2 separate regions of the Homo sapiens genome follow, and region 2 is linked to region 1. The links are contacts of gene promoters, found by promoter capture Hi-C in human tissues and cell types (Jung and others, 2019). All regions are on one chromosome and are shown on one strand. Each heading gives the region's core, a stretch centred on a gene start or on the middle of the fragment in contact. The rest is flanking DNA. Distances are from core to core; before and after follow the strand shown.

Region 1 (6,180 bases), core at 3,504-6,003:
AATATTCTTACTATAAGTATAAATATAAATTTTAGTTGAAAGTGATCTATTATAGTGCCTGTAGATATTGGGATGATCTGGTATTTTGTAAAAGATTGATTTACAATAAATATGAGAATTTTTAACCAATTCTTGACTTTTCAAAGTGACTATGCTTATCTTTTTTTATGAAATGAATGCTTTAAAAAATCCTAGGTCTTTTTTTTTTGAGAAAAACAAAAATGGGACAAAGAAGAATTCCAGAAATTTCTCTGAAAACTTCAGCTCTTCACAACAAGTTAGGCACTTTCTTTTAGGATAAGAATGGACTTAACAAATATTTTTAGCTGATAATTTGCGAATTATCTACTTTTCCTGTTATGGTGGAGGGAGTAGGGGTAAAAAGTAAGGCTGTCATTTTGTTGTTAATTTATTTCTAACTAAAGAAAATAGAGCTAAAACATACTTTGGATAGTTTATTTTATTATTTTCTGTTCACAGTTTAAATTGGTATTTGGTAAGGGGGCAGGGTGAATCTACAGGCTAAAGCAACTTTTTAAAATTAAACATAATTTTTATTTCTAATCACCTATGCTATACATTCCACATGATCAAGAAAAATTGTTGGTGCATTAACATTTTATAGGTAAAGTTTATGTGAAAATGATGGTATGGCAATGTCCTAGTTATTAACCCTTTACTTCTAAAAGTATTTACATTAATACATAAGTTTAGGGTAAAATAAATATTGAAGATGAAATAATTAGTAATCTGTAACCAGTTGCATTTAAGCATGGCTGAAGGTAACAAGGCAGACATTGTTGATGGTGGGATGGTTCCTTCTACGTTTCTTTCATTTCCTTTCACCTAGCCTGTTTCATTGATTCCATGCTCAGGAAGAGACACCATGTTGGAAGAGGAAATTGGTGAAGGAGCTGCATAGGTCACCTAAGAAAAGGTCATGTTTATTCATCCGTAGCCATGTAGCCTCCATTTTGTGAACTCAGCACAGAACAGTTTCCACATTTACTTTTTTTCCCTCCTCCCGTTTCTACTTCTATCTGGGCCCTGACAGAAGACAGTGTTCAGCCAACACTAACACAGAATTACTGGACTATGAATGCCACACTGGTAGGCACTGTGTCTCTTTTGATCCTCACATATCTCCAGGCTCTAACCTGGTGCCTGGCTTCTAGTAGATACTCGGTACATAATGGTTGAAGGGTACAATACATGAGTGCCTGAATGCATACATGCTTGGGTCAGGCAGGCAGAGAGGGAAAGAGGAAACTCCTGAAGTCCTGGCTGCGCGGTGACCTTGTGCAAGCACTTTCGTCTCTCATTGCCTTGGTTTCCTTATCCAGGCTGGGAAATCCTGGATGGTGAACCACACGTGTTCCCTGAGTGTGAATCCTGTACCTGGTTTGACTGTAGTCACCCCTTCTCCAACACTCTCCACGATGCCGGCTGCCTCATGGCCTAAAATCACAGGAAGGGGGGTCACCAGGTTGCCACTAACCACGTGGTCATCTGTGTGACAGATTCCTACAGCCACCATCTACAGAATAAAGAGAAGCTGTTCAGATTCAGAAAAGATTGTAACTAGATGAATTTAACATACCCAAATTCCTGAAATTGTGTTTCTAAAATGTATTTGAGGGTTTTGCTACTAATCCCTACTATTCCTAAATATGAAAGATTCAGTTTATCCCCAAGGTTATTCAGTCTAAAGCCCTTCTCTACCTTCCCTTCTTGAATTAAACAATTTAGAATAATCTGTGAAATAATTGATTCTGAAATATTTAAGTCTTATGTAAGAATGCACGCTTTAAAAAATAGAAGTAGAAATAGCAAAGTAACACATGGAAAATATCTAATATTAATTGATTTTGAAGTCTTGATATATATCCTTTGGAATTTTTTTCTGTACAAACATAAATTCTTTTGTATTTTACTGGAATTATACTGTATGTACTCTTTGATCATTTTTTAAAAATTTAAAATTTATATTTATACCTTTCCTTGACAACAAATGTAATTTTATCTTCTGGGTGATCATATAAGATATGCCTCTTAGTGGATTTTTGGATGTTTCCATTTTTAATGTTCTCTGAGTTTTTTAAATGTAAAATGAAATATAAATGGAAAAATATTTCACCTTAATGCGAACTTCATAAGCCTTAGGAGGTGCAACCTCCACATCCTCAATGGAAAAGGGTTTCTTTACCTCCCATAGCACAGCTGCTTTGCATTTGATTACCTAGAAAATCAAACAGAGAGATGGTGACAGTGTTTTCCCACTCTTGAAGTCATAAGTTGTGTCTTTTCATCTTTGTACATGTAATATTGCGTCCCATGTCTGGTACCTAACAAGTGCTCCATGGAAATGAAGTACTCTGGTTTATAAAGAGAATAAAAGTATCTTTTAAAAAGCAATAACATAAGGAAAGATAAACAAAGTATAATAAGACATTGAGAAAAATGGAATATATTTATTTAGGCCATTCTTATGTTGTTGTTTTTTCTCTGAAGGTGTTTATTCCTGGTATTTCCTAATGCCGTCCTGAAAATGCTCGTCTACCCACAACTATTAGCTGATATATGAAGTTAGAAGTCACCTTTATTTTGCTGACAGAGTCAGTGTCTGTCTACATAAAATACACTGCTTTATTGCTCAATTTTCTGCTTAGGCCAAAAGGATCTGACTCTATAAGAGCAATTATACATTTACCTTCCTGCGCACAATGACATTTCTTTCTCTCCCTATTTGCTTATTGTCCTCTTTTAATTTTCTCTCTCCACTACTTCTGTGTGCTACTTGTTTCCTACTCATTTGAAACTTAGCTTTGGCAGCCTGTTTTGTAATCTAATTTATGTGTAGAGACTTCTTTCAGCTTAGATTTGAGCCAAATATTATAGAGATTAGAGTTGGTGGTGTGTGTGTGTGCACGTGTGTGTGTGTGTATACACTCAGACCCACGCATGTATATTTTAAAACTGGAGAAACAGTGTGCTTGGATTTCTGTTTAGCAGAGCTTATCCATAGATGTTCTTAAAAATAAAGTTCAGCATATATTTCTAGTGCTTGGCAGTGTACTGTAAAACCCATCTTCGTTGTGGTAAAGCATGTATAATTCGCAGAGCCCTTTCTAGAAAGAACCAACATAATTGCAAATATAATTTAAAAATTCAATTGAGATTTATTTTTCTGCCAATTCATTTTCATTATTTATTTGTCAAAATTTTCAACTTTGTAGGATGTTCAACATGGTCAATGCCAAAATAAATACCAGAATACTTAGACAGAAGGTACTAATAGTAGGAAGATTCTTATTATGAGGTGCTTATGATGTGACAGGCACATTGTGACCTGTGCTGGGTAAATTACATGCATTATTTTTATCTTAAAATTTATTCATTGATTAATTTTTAATTTCAATAGTTTTTGGGGTGCAGATGGTTTTTGGTTACACGGATAAGTTCTTTAGTGGTGATTTCTGATATTTTGGTGCACCCCTCACACAAGCAGTGTAGACTGAACCCAATATGTAGTCTTTTATGTCTTATTCCTCCTACTGCCCTTTTCCCTCAGTCCCCAAAGTCCATTATATCATTCTCATCCTTTGTGTCCTCATAGTTTAGCTACCACTTTTAAGTGAGAACATTGGATATTTGGTGTTCCATTCATGAGTTACTTTACTTAGAATAACGTCCTCTAGCTCCATCAACCAGTCTTATTGATATGAGCCTGTTTGTCACACAATGCAGAGAGAAGCCTCAGAACCTTTAAATTGAATTATCATAGTGAGATATTTTACAGTGTGGTACACTCCTAACACAAAAAAAGGACTGGACATAGTTGCACAGGTTTATGTAATTAAACAATTAAAAAAATCAATTGATTATATTGAATGACCACATGCACCTGTAAACACATTGAGCAAATAAGTACAAATTTATAGAAGAAAAAACCAAATATCTGTATTCCTAGTGCTAAGTGATTCAAATTGTATTATTATTCAAATTGTATCATTGATTTTCTGTAAAACCATATTAACTTTTAAATGGGGAAGATACTGTTCCATAGGATTTTTGTGGAAATTCCCTGAATTGTATCATAATGGACCCCTTTTAATCAGAATTTGCATGTTGATGTCTTGCTTAACCTTGATGATTCTAATGCTGTGAAATCAATGAGTATTTTGTAAGATATTTTATAGTAAGGTTAAAGGATATTTCAGTCTTCTGAGTCAAATTCCTCTCATCAAACTTCTGTCAGACAACTTTCCTGTGTTCATAAAAAATTTGAATAAAAATAATAACACATTTGAATTATGGTTTCTTATTATAAAGATAACTTGCCATTAAAGACTTTTCTAACTTTAGATTTACAAATCAGTCATGATTAGCTTGGAATAAACTATCATTTTACTGTAAATTTATTTAATGTAGGAAATAAAGACTAATAGACACAGGTTCTATACATTCCTGTTAAAGGTACTTAAGAATAGCTTATTTCCACTGCAGTTCAGTATACATTACATATTGAGGTGTATATTGCATATCATATTTCAGCATATCATTTCTAATTTAGATATGAATTTTAAATTATTCATCAAATACTGTATTCCTTTCTTTGTTATATTGATGAGAATATATTACCAACAGTAATATATTTTTTGCTTACTTTTCCTGCTGTGCTCATGTCGTTTCTGTCTTCTCTGCCCACCAGCAGACTGTGAGTCTTTGTGGATTTCTTCTCTGCTTGAGTGCATAAAGCAGATATATTGCACAGATATTTATTTTGTTTGCTTGTGTAACATCCAATTCCAATTCCACACGTGATCTATGTCTTTAAGCCACACCCACTGGATTATTCCCAGACTGTCAAAACAGATAAAAGGGTACTGAACCAGCAATCAAAATATTGACTTCCAAATTCTAGATAAGATTTTGTTTTCATTAGTTTAAATATTAAGTTAAAGTGATAAATTGTAATCACTTTCTCTTTTCCTCACTTCCCACCCCCCCCCGGCCTCTGGAATTCCTTGTTTCTCTTCTTTCAATCCCACATAGGTCGTTCTGCCTTGTATTCCCTTTGTCTGCACTAAGCTGCAACTTTGAATGCACATGGGGTGGCGAGGAAGGAAGAAGAGTAAGAAAACAGGAAAAACGAAGTAGGATAGAGAGAGCAGCCTCTTTGTCTTTACAGCAGAGAATCAGACACCCAATTAGTCACAGCAAAGGGGATCACTGTGCCTGGCAATTCTGCTCCACTCAAAACTAGTATGTATGGACTGAACACCTCCCTGTGTCAGGCACTAAGCTGGGTCCAGTGGAGTAGCAGTGATGAATAAGACATGACCTCTGCCTGTGCCAAGAGGCAGTATGGGGCAGCGGTGATGGCATGGCTTGTGGGACCAGGCCAACCCAGTTCCTTACTTGTTCTGTGTACTTGGACTTATTATTTCACTGAATTTTTTTTGCCTTAATTTCCTTATCTGTGAGATGAAGATGAATAATGGCGTCATTTTAAAGGACTGTTTGTGAATAAATGAAATAATCCTTGTAAAGCACTCATCATGGAGTTTTGCAGATAGGAGCACCCTCCTAAATGTTAGCTACAATTATTATTCATGAAAGAAAGCTCACAGTTTATAGTGAAAAGACACGCAGGAAACCAAGTCTACATATCAGCCTGGCTGGGAAGTGCCCTATCACAGGGGTCAGTTAATGCTTTGGGAACAGAGACAGAGTTGCTATTCAGAATGAAGGACTCAGGGGAGGCATTGTAGAGGAACAGGCATTTGTGGCAGATTTTAAATAATTGTGAGAAATGGAGCAAAATCCTCACTGGATCATTTCCATTACCCTTTGATCAATGTAGCTAGTATCCTCATGGCTTTCCAAGCATAGGAGTTTGATTTTTCTTTTATCCACACTTGGAGGCGTCATAAAACTATACAGGCAACTATTTAATTAGATATAGTCTGTCAATATGAACATGTTAGCATAGAGGACATATTTCTCTAAAATTGCCAAGGGAACATTTCAGTAAGCTTTAATTATGTAGGCACTGAGACTCACACCAAGACTGAGAAACATTCACCCAATAGAAAGCAAAGGAGGTCCTATGATTTTAGTTGCTTCTAGTTTGGAAAGGTATGACGGAAAGAAGATAGCCCCAGATAACCTGGCTTT
Region 2 (5,625 bases), core at 2,947-5,446, 47 kb after region 1:
TGGCTCACGCCTCTAACCCTAGAATTTTGGGAAGCCAAGGCAGGTGGACCATGAGGTCAGGAGATTGAGACCATCCTGGCCAACATGGTGAAACCCCGTCTCTACTAAAATATAAAAAGTTAGCTGGGCATGGTGGTGCATGCCTGTAGTCCCAGCTACTTCAGAGGCTGAGGTAGAGGAATCACTTGAACCCAAGAGGCGGAAGTTTCAGTGAGCAGAGATCGTGCCACTGCATTCTGGCCTGGTGATGGAGCAAGACTCCATCTCAGAAAAAAAAAAAAGCCTATTTAATGGGGATAGGATGATATCTCATTGTAGCTTTGATTTGCCTTTCTCTGATGATCAATGATCGTCATCATATGCATGTTTGCCATTTGTTTGTCTTTTTGTGAGAAATAGCTATTCAAAACTTTAGCCCATTTTAAAATTGAATTATTAGATTTCTTTCCTAGAATTGTTTGAGCTCTTTATATATTCTGGTTATTAATTATTTGTCAAATGGGTTTTTCTTCAAATATTTTCTCCCATTCTGTGAGTTGTCTCTTCACTTTGTTCATTGTTTCCTTTGCTATGCTGAAGTTTTTTTTTTAACATGATGTGACCCCATTTGTCCATTTTTGTTTTGGTTGCCTGTGCTTATAGGGTATTATTCAAGAAGTTTTTGCCCAGACCAACGTCCTGGAGAGCTTCCCCAATGTTTTCTTGTAGTAGTTTCATACTTTAGGGTCTTAGATTTTAAGCCTTTAATCCATTTTGATTTGACTTTTGTATATGGTGAGAGATAGGGGTCAAGTTTCATTCTTCTGAATATGAATATTCAATTCTCCCAGCACCATTTATTGAAAAGACTTTTTTTCCTCAATGTATGTTCTTGGTGCCTTTGTTGAAAACGAGTTTACTGTAGGTATGAAGATTTTTTTCTGGGTTTTCCATGCTGTTTTATTGGTCTATGTGTCTGTTTTTATGGTAGTATCATGCTGTTTTTGTTACTATAGCTTTGTAGTATATTTTGAAATCAGATCATGTGATTCCTACAGCTTTATTCCTTTTTCTCAGGACAGTTTTGGCTATTCTGAATATTTTGTGATTCCATATAAATTTTAGGATTCTTTTTCTATTTCTGTGAAGAAAGTCATTGGTATTTTGACAGGGATTGCATTGACTCTGTAGATTGCTTTGTGTAGCATGGACATTTTAATAATGTTGATTCTTCCAATCCGTGAACATGGAATATCTTTCCATTTTTTGTGTCCTCTTCAATTTTTTTAATCAATATTTTATAGTTTTCATTGTGAAGATTTTTCACTTCTCTGGTTGATACCTAGGTATTTAATTTTATTTGTGGTGGCTATAAATGGAATTACTTTTTTGATTTCCTTTTCAGATTGCTCACTGTTGATATTTAGAAATGCTACTGATTTTTGTACATTGATTTTGTGTCCTAAAAGTTTACTGAATTTGTTTATCAGTTTGAGTAGTTTTTTGGGGGAGTCTTTTGGTTTTCCCAAATATAAGATTATATCATCTGCCAATAGGAAAATTTGACTTCTTTTTCAATTTGGATTCTCCTTATTTCTTTCTCTTGCCTGATTGCTCTTGCTAAGAATTCCAGTATTATGTTGGATAACAGTGGTGAAAGTGGGCATCCTTGTCGTGTTCCAGATTTAAGAGGAAAATCTTTCAGTTTTTCCCCATAAAGTATAACACTAGCTGGGGGTCTGTCATATATGGCTTTTATTATGTTGAGGTATGCTCCTTTTATACCCAGTTTTCTGAGGTTTTTTTCTTAATCCTGAAAGATGTAGATCTTTATCAAAAGAGTTTTCAGCATCCATTGAAATATATGGTTTTTGTCCTTCATTCTGTTGATATGAAGTATCACATTGACTGATTTGCATATGTTGAACCATTCTTGCATTCCTGGAGTAAATCCCACTTGGTCATGATGAATGATCTTTATAATATATTGTTGAATTTCACTTGCTAGTATTTTGTTGACAATTTTTGCATCAATATTCATCACAGATGTTAGCTTGTAGTTTTTATTTATTTATTTTAACATGCCTTTGTCTTGTTTTGGTATTAGAGTAATACTAGCCTCATTGAATCAGTTTGGAAGTATTTCCTCCTCCTCTGTTTTTTGGAACAGTTTGAGTAGGATTAGTATTAGTTCTTTAAATGTTTGGTAGAGTTTAGCAGTGAAGCCGTTGGGTCCCAGGCTCTTCTTTACTGGGAGATCTTTTATTATGTCTTCAATCTCATTACTTTTTATTGACCTGTTCAGGTTTTGGATTTCCTCTTGGTTCAATTTTGGCATGTTTTATGTTCCTAGAAATTTATCCATTTCTTCTATATTTTCCAGTATATCAACATATGGTACCTAATAATGATCATTTGAATTTCTGTTGTATCAGTTGTAATGTGTTGGGAACAAGCCCCCAAATCTGGCCATAAACTGGTCCCCAAACTGGCCATAAACAAAATCTTTGCAGCACTGTGACATGTTCGTGATGGCCATGACACCCACGCTGAAGGTTGTGGGTTTACTAGAATAAGAGCAAGGAACACCTGGCCCACCCAGGGCAGAAAACTGCTTAAAGGTATTCCTAAACCACACACAATAGCACGAGTGATCTGTGCCTTAAGGACATGTTTCTGCTGCAGATAACTAGCCAGAGCCCATCCCTTTGTTTCAGCCCATCCCTTTGTTTCCTGTAAGGAATACTTTTAGTTAATCTATAATCTATAGAAATAATGCTTATCACTGGCTTGCTGTCAATAAATATGTTGGTCAAACTCTGTTCAGGGCTCTCGGGTCTGAAGGCTGTGAGTCCCCTGATTTCCCACTCCACACCTCTATATTTCTGTGTGTGTGTCTTTAATTCCCCTAGCACCACTGGGTTAGCTCCATGACCGAGCTGGTCTTGGCAAGCGGTGCCCAATGTGGGGGCTCGAACCTAGGTCGAATGGTCACTGGAGCAATGGTTGGAGAATGTGGAACTAAACTGGAGGACACCTGAGTACTCTTAAGCAGTCCCCATGGTGAGTAAGAAGGGGAGCTCGGAAGCATCAGGGTAACAATGGGACAAGTGTGGGCTCTGGTTCTTTCCACCTTGGAACCTTTTCACACTGATGATGAGGAGGAAGGAAAGTATAACAAAGTAACAGAAGAGGTGACAGAGCAGGTTTGTTTGCCAGCTAAAGCTAAAGTGGCAAAGGAGGAAGAGGTTCATCCCTACCCTTCGGCACCCCCCCATTATTTTGAAGAAAAAGAGTGGCCTGACCCTCCAGATCTTTCTTTTCTGGAGGACACTGGGTGAAAAGTATTTGCCCCAGTGACTGAGCAGTACCTCAAGTGACTGCTCTCAGTTCTATTCTGGCAGGAATCCAGTAAGCTATATGAGAAGGTGATATACAGGCTTGGCAGTTCCCTGTTAGCATACACCCCCCAGATCAACAGGGAAATATTATAGCTACATTTGAGCCTTTTCCTTTTAAATTTGGGAAATGCCATGAGGGGCCAGTCCTGGGCCCCGTTCCAAACCAGAGCATTTCCAGCTCAGGCCCTTCCCTCACCCCTGTACAATTCCTGTCCCCTGCCACAGCCGGTAGTGCCGCAGTAGATTTATGCTGCACAAAAGTTGTGAGCCTTCTGCCTGTGACCCCCACAAAAAGTTCCAACACGGGTCTGTGGACCCTTGCCAATGGGGATGATAGGATTACTTCTAGGTAGATCTAGTTTAAATTTAAAAGGAGTGCAAGTACATATCAGAGTCATTGATTCAGATTACAATAGGGAAATTGAAATTTTTATATCTACTTCTGTTCCCTGGAAAGCAGAGCCAGGAGAGTGTATAGCACAGCTCCTGATTGTGCCATATGTGGAAATGGGGAAAAGTGAAATTAAATGAACAGGAGGATTTGGAAGCACAAATAAACAAGGCAAAGCAGCTTTGGGTGAATCAAATTACTGATAAACACCCTACCTGTAAAATAACTATTCAGGGAAAGAAATGTAAAGGTTTGGTAGATACAGGAGCAGACATTTCAATCATTTCTCTACAGCACTGGCTGTCCATGTGGCCAATTCAACCCCCTCAATTTAACATAGTTGGAGTTGGTAAAGTCCCTGAAGTATATCAAAGTAGTTATATTTTGCATTGTGAAGGGCCCGATGGAAAACCTGGGACTATTCAACCAATTATGACTTCTGTACCTATAAATCTATGGGGAAAGGATTTATTACAAAAATGGGGAGCACAAGTTCTAATTCCAGAACAATTATATAGCCCTCAAAGTCAACATATGATGCATGCAATGGGGTATGTCCCTGGTATGGGACTAGGAAAAAATTTGCAAGGTTTGAAGGAAGCCCTTCAAGTGGGAAGACAAACTTCTTGCCAAGATTTAGGATATCATTTTTGATGGCAGCCATTGTTAAGCCTCCAGAACCTATACCTTTAAAAGGGTTAACAGATAAGCCAATTATCTGATAAAACAATGGTCGCTGAATAAAGAGAAACTGGAGGCTTTAGAGGACTTAGTTACTGAACAAGTAGAAAAAGGACACATAGCTCCAACATTTTCCCCTTGGAAATCTCCAGTTTTTGTAATTAAGAAAAAATCAGGTAAATGGAAAATGTTAACTGACTTAAGAGCCATTAATTCAGTTATACAACCTATGGGGACATTGCATCCAGGACTGCCTTCTTTTGCTATGATTCTGAAAAATTGGCCTTTAATAGTCATAGATTTAAAAGACTCTTTACTATCCCCTTAGCTGGGCAAGACTGTGAATGGTTTGCATTTACAATTCCTGCAGTAAACAACCTGCAGCCTGCTAAGCATTTTCACTGGAAAGTGTTGCCACAAGGCATGTTAAACAGTCCAACAATTTGCCAGACTTATGTAGGGCAAGCAATTGAACCTACTAGTAAAAAATTTTCACAGTGTTACATTATTCATTATATGGATGATATACTTTGTGCTGCCATCACTTGAGAAATATTAATCCAATGTTATGATCTCTTGCAAAACTTAATTTCTCATGCTGGTTTAATTATAGCTCCTGACAGAATTCAGACTACTACTCCTTACTTCTTTCTTGGGGACCTTAGTAAATGATACCACCATTGTGCCACAGAAAGTAACCATATGTAGGGATCAATTGAAAACATTAAATGACTTTCAAAAATTACTAGGAGAAATTAATTGGACATGACCTGCCCTAGGCATTCCTACCTGAGTAATCTATTTTCTATCCTTAGAGGAGATCCTAGTCTCACTAGCCCTCAGCAGTTAACAAAAGAAGCTGAGGCAGAGCTGCAAGTCATCAAAAAGCAAGTCCATAAAGCTCAAATCAATAGAATAGATCCAGAGAAGACTCTAGATTTGCAAATTTTTTCAACTCAGCATTCACCTACTGATGTTATTGTTCAAGAGCAAGATCTTGTACAGTGTCTTTCTCTTCCACATACTAATTCAGGGACTTTGACTCCTTATTTGGATCAAATTGCTACTATGATAGGAAATGGGTGAACTCAGATTGTTAAATTACATGGATATGATCCTGGAAAAAATATTGTCCCTCTCATGAAGGCACAAATACAGCAAGCCTTTATAAAT

Evidence for each region. Contacts are between HindIII fragments. The study calls those that stand out against the background at their distance.
Region 2: a fragment that was not itself captured here is called in contact with the fragment with the promoter of ADH1B in region 1 in 2 of the 25 tissues and cell types used here (bladder and ovary).

What each region holds. Positions count from the first base shown.
Region 1 is chr4:99,316,648-99,322,827 of GRCh38, forward strand. ADH1B (alcohol dehydrogenase 1B (class I), beta polypeptide) reads right to left here and starts at 4,754. Exons shown (of 9, transcript NM_000668.6): 1 at 4,667-4,754; 2 at 2,138-2,239; 3 at 1,399-1,537. The coding sequence starts at 4,684. RefSeq lists enhancers at 1,057-2,256, 4,920-5,026 and a promoter at 4,720-5,026. The HindIII fragment of the contact is 12,641 bases long and covers 1-6,180 here.
Region 2 is chr4:99,364,633-99,370,257 of GRCh38, forward strand. No RefSeq gene overlaps it. Among named protein-coding and RNA genes, the nearest start is that of ADH1C, 15 kb to the left of the region's middle. The HindIII fragment of the contact is 8,873 bases long and covers 1-5,625 here.